Linked DNA regions of Homo sapiens: region 1 is linked to region 2. The links are contacts of gene promoters, found by promoter capture Hi-C in human tissues and cell types (Jung and others, 2019). All regions are on one chromosome and are shown on one strand. The core of a region is centred on a gene start or on the middle of the fragment in contact, and the rest is flanking DNA. Distances in the headings are between cores, read along the strand shown.

Evidence for each region. Contacts are between HindIII fragments. The study calls those that stand out against the background at their distance.
Region 1: a contact is called between a fragment that was not itself captured here and the fragment with the promoter of ROBO3 in region 2, in 1 of the 25 tissues and cell types used here (spleen).

The regions. Positions count from the first base shown.
Region 1 is chr11:125,128,703-125,131,402 of GRCh38, forward strand. No RefSeq gene overlaps it. Among named protein-coding and RNA genes, the nearest start is that of TMEM218, 18 kb to the left of the region's middle. The HindIII fragment of the contact is 6,940 bases long and covers 1-2,700 here.
Region 2 is chr11:124,864,083-124,866,782 of GRCh38, forward strand. ROBO3 (roundabout guidance receptor 3) reads left to right here and starts at 1,350. Exons shown (of 28, transcript NM_022370.4): 1 at 1,350-1,655. The coding sequence starts at 1,496. RefSeq lists an enhancer at 1,666-2,342. The HindIII fragment of the contact is 19,013 bases long and covers 1-2,700 here.

The DNA.
Region 1 (2,700 bases), core at 45-2,544, 260 kb after region 2:
ACTTTTGAATTGTTTATTTTTGGAATTTTTCTCTTAATATTTCTGGACCACAGTTGACCGTGGGTAATGGAAACTGTGGAAAGTAAAACTGGGGAAGGGAAGGCTCTACTGTATTTTGAATTGTAGGGTGTTTAGTAGACTCCCCGGCCTCTGCTTACGAGATACCATGTCCCTTCCTGACAACCAGACATGTCTCCAGACATTGCCAAACATCTCTTGGGGGCAGGCGGCAAAATCACCCCTGGTTGAGATGCACTATTTTCTTTCTTCTTCAAGTTTGCAATCTCACCTTCAGAAACCCACTTTCGGTTGATAATTATGTCTCCTGTTTTCCTTAAAAAGACGTCATCTGATCTAGGTTTTAAAAATATCCCTTTCTTACCATTCAAAATTCTTCCAGATAGTCACCCAACCCTTCCTCTTCTCCTTTAGTCTAGAATTGCCCTCTTTTTCAAGACGAATCACCGCACGTACATCTTTCCTTAAAGTCCATCCCAGCCATGCTGGCCGCCCGCTGTCAGTTACAGCGCTTCTCTGCTTCTTAGTCATCTGGCTTAGACACCATTTCCACTTTTTTTTCCCAAACACCTTTAAGACCTTTAGTTATCTTCATTAAGCTACTAGCCTTTTTTTCCCTCCGTTTAATCATCATGTTTATCTGAAAACTAGACATCAACAACAGCTAGTCTTTGTGGAGCACTTACAATGTGCAGGCGTCGTCAGGGAGGTGCAGGCGCCTCAGCCCCCGTGGTATCTTGACTTCTGCGTTAACTGGCTTTCCACCCTTGCCCAGCACGGTTACTTTCTCAATGATCACCGAACCGCGCAATCCGACGGCCGTTTCTTGGTCTTCGCTTCTTCACCGTCTCTAAAGCTCTTAACACTGTTGAGCACCCTTTGGTTGAAACTGTTTCTTCCCTAGGATTTTAATTTCTCTGGGATTCAATTTAGTTAGCTGAAAGTTGGAGGATTTAATTTAAGTAAGTGATTTCTAAGACCTCCTTTGGTGCCTGAATCCTATACATTTAAAAGCCTCTTGGTTTCTGTTTGCCAGACAGCTGCGCTCAGAATACCCTACTTCAGAACCCCAGAGGCCCAGGAGAGGGGCGGGCAGAGGGGCGCCCCCGCCACCGGGCACTGCTGAGGTGACCTTTATCTAGATCTTCCGTGCAAGCCTCTAACATTCTCAAGCTTTGCTTTTTTCCCCAACCACTGTCATTATTCAAACACAGGCTGAAAACGATAGAGTGATTTCTTTTGTTTATGTGTGTTTTATGCTTCCCTTTCCCTTGCTGTCCACGTAATCAGCCCCCAAATCCAGCTTCCTGAGCATGTCTGAACTCCATCTCCTGATTTTCATCTCCGGCAGCCATTATCCTAACCCAGGGCTCCTTATCACCCTTTTAAAATTAATTTTTACTTACAGCATTTAACTCCATATTTTCTAAAAGAAAATTCTGCTTCTAATTGTTGATTTCCACCCCCCAACTTTGACATTATTGTTACCTTCTTCCTCTGGAAGATGATAATTTAACTCTCTAACACATATGACACACACACACATATATATATACACACATAACACATATATATACACGCATAACACACACAACACACACATATATATGCACATATAAGAAACACATATATGCATATAACATGTAACACATTTATACACATACAACACATACACATATATGCATATAACACGTATATAGGCACATATACCTACACAACACATACACATATATACACATATAACACATACATACATACACATGCAATACATACACATATAATACATACTCATATAATACATAAATACACATAACATACTTATATTAACACATAATACATACATATATGCATATAACACATACATATACACACATAATAAATACATATATACTTATAAAACATACATGTATACACATGTAATACATATATACACATATAATACATGCATATATACAAATATACATAAATATATACACATAATACATACATATATACACTTATAATACATATATACACATATAACACATACATATATACACATAAAATACATACATATATAAACATATAACACACACAGACATATATATATATATATATATATATATATATATGCTTCTCCCTCAATCCTCCTAATTTAGTTACTCTATAATTTTTGGTCAAATTGGTATTCAGTATTCATAGTATTGTGACTATGGAAATACTGCCTATAACTAAGTCATGTGGTATACCGTGATTACATTTCCTTTCTTGTATGTTTTCTTTTTTTTTTTTTAGTTGGTTCTTTGTTCATTTGCTTAGTTTTTTTATTTTTATTATACTTTAAGTTCTAGGGTACATGTGCACAATGCACAGGTTTCTTACATATGTATACATGTGCCATGTTGGTGTGCTGCACCCATTAACTCGTCATTTACATTAGGTATATCTCCTAATGCTATCCCTCCCCGCTCTCCCCACCCCACGACAGGCCCCGGTGTGTGATGTTCCCCTTCCTGTGTCCAAGTGTTCTCATTGTTCAATTCCCACCTATGAGTGAGAACATGCGGTGTTTGGTTTTTTGTCCTTGCAATGGTTTGCTGAGAATGATGGTTTCCAGCTTCATCCATGTCCCTACAAAGGACATGAATGCATCCTTTTTTATGGCTGCATAGTATTTCATGGTGTATATGTGCCACATTTTCT
Region 2 (2,700 bases), core at 100-2,599:
TAGGGTTGGAAGGCACCTAAACACCCATAGTTGGAGGCTCACAGCCAGGCGCCTGGACTGAGGAAGGAGGCTTGGAACAAGCCCCCCACCCCTTGACAATGTCTCGGGTTCCCTTGAACAAGCTCTGCCTGAAATATTTCAATTCTTGATTCTGCTTACTCCAGAGTCTGCGACTGTATAGCACCCACCCCTCTGATCTCGACCCCTTTGGGGTCAGAAGCAGTCGCCCCATGAAAGTTGTCTCATCCCAGAACCTGACGGCTGAGCCAGAACTCTGGCACTGACTCTTCAATCAGCAGGGCCTTACCTCAGGTTAGGAATGCCCCGGCCTCTCTCTTTCCCTGATACCCCAAAGCCATCTCCTGTCTAGGAAAGTGAGTTTGTCGAGGTGGGTCTTCAGGTAGAAAGAACTCCAGAAAAGTCAGAAGCAGACCGCGACTGGAAGTGGGAGGTGGGAGTAGGGGCCCATGGTTTTCTTTTCGCCCCCCCCAGGAAGGACGACTGCTATCCGATTTGAACAGATTTGCACTAATTTTGCAGCAATCCCACATGCCTTTACAAAAATAATATTATCTTTGTTTTTGTCCTAGAATCCTTGGTTCCATTTCAGTCTCCTCAAAAACGTAAAACAATTTAATAAAAAATGTCAAAGCAGGGTAATGTAAAAGGATTCAAATAAATGACAGTTGCCTGGGTTTCCCTGGCTTTCAGTCTCCTACAGGAACTCCTAGATTAGGGCGTTTGGAGCAGGACTCCCGGGTCAGGGCGCGCCGCTCCATCCTCTGGCCTCCTGGCTGCAGACCAAAGGACCAGAGGGCAGAGAGGTGGACCTGTCTTGGAATTCTCTGCCTACTCCCAACTCTTGCTGCAAACCACCCCAGTCTCCTGCCCTTCCGTCGCCAAACCCCTAGACTTGGGAGGGAATGGAAACCAGAACTTTGGCAGCAAGGAGCATTGCTTGCGCTTTGCCTCAGTTTCCAAAAGGTTCGGGAAAAGAGAGGACAGATTCCTGTTCTAAAGTTGGGCAGAAGGGCAGAGTCCGACAGAGCCTCGTCCCTCATCTTGGGTGCTTTGAGACAGGGAAAATCTCTCGCCGCGTCCAGAACGGAACGCTGGGCTTGGGGTGCGGGGCGGGGACTCCAACTCGCGCGCTACGCTACTCGTGTCTCCTGCTCGGATAGTGACTGTAGAGGTAAGGGTGGGAGGGTGGAGGGAGGCGGATTAATCCCTTAATTACGCCGTGATCGGCGTGGCACCTGCTTTCCGCCTGCCCAGCTCCCAGGGGACTCCGGCACTAGGGGGTGGAGAGAAGGACGAGGGAAGGAGGAGGGCACGAAGAGGCACCGACCGTACCCAGGCGCACCGGCAGGAGAGCGGCACCGTGGCTGCCGCAGCGCGCAGAGGCTGTGGAGGGGCTTACGGCTCCCAGCCCACGGGTCTCAGACCCAGGGGCTGGGCCCCCAGCCCCCAGTCCCGATCCCAGCTGGGTCGAGCCATGCTGCGCTACCTGCTGAAAACGCTGCTGCAGATGAACTTGTTCGCGGACTCTCTGGCCGGGGACATCTCCAACTCCAGCGAGCTGCTCTTGGGCTTCAACTCCTCGCTGGCGGCGCTCAACCACACCCTGCTGCCTCCCGGCGATCCCTCTCTCAACGGTGAGACCCTGCCTCTTGGGGATATGGGATCCTGGGATGGGGATGAGGTGAGAGGGCGGCGTGGAAGGGAAGGAGAAGCGCTCCTGTCCCGAGGTCCGGGATTGAGTGGCGCCTCCCAGCGCCTCCCTGGGTCGTGGGGTCTAAGGGATAATTTGGAGCTTCGAGCACATGAGTGGGGGTACCCGCGGGAGGTCGAGGGCTTGGGAGAAGATGGCTACTGAGTCTTTTTACACCTCCTTCCCTTCCCCTACAACGCCCACCCCAGGTGAGAAGAACCGTTGCTGGTAACGGGCAGGGAAGTCCGAGCTAAGAAAGGCCCGGGCCCAGCGCAGGGAGGGCAGAGGAGGGGGCACAGTCTCCCGCCGGCCTCGGCCAAGCCAGGTCACTCGGTGACCCACCCAGGCAGCTGGTCTTCGGAACCCCGAAGTTTCCCAAGAACTCACTTAGGACCAGAGGAAGCCAAAATGCTGGATGTGTTTGCTACGGAGGGGATAGGGGCGGCGATCATTTTAAGGAAACTTAGAAGTTTGTCTTTCAGCGGCGGGACTCTCAGCCGGCCCACCCCGGCAGAGCTGTGGCGGGCGGGCGGAGCTGGCGGCGAGGTCGTTACCGCTAATTACGGTGATTAATAAATGACTGGGACAGCGCGCTCTCCCCTAGCGCCGCGGGGAAGCTGCGGGAGCCGGCCGCCGCCAGCCTGCGGAGAGGCCGGAGCGCGCCCCCTGCCTGCCGCATCGGGAACCCCCGCTTTACCGGGCGCTTTCGCGTGTGGTTCCCTCCAGGTGCACGCGGTCCCCATCCCTCTGCCTCGACCCACTCGAGTCTAGTGACGAGCACTGTGCTGGGGACTCGAAGGTGGAGAGAAAGGAGACCCTGGCAATATGTGTGTGTTCATGTGTGGGGCACATCAGGTGCTGAGGGAGGAGCCCCAGAGCCTCATTAGCATGGCCATTAGCTATTCATTAGGCTGCAGTCGAAGCATCTCCTGAGACCGGGAAGGGTAGAGGGGGAAATTCCAGGGAAAGGGCGCCTGCAGCTGTGTCTA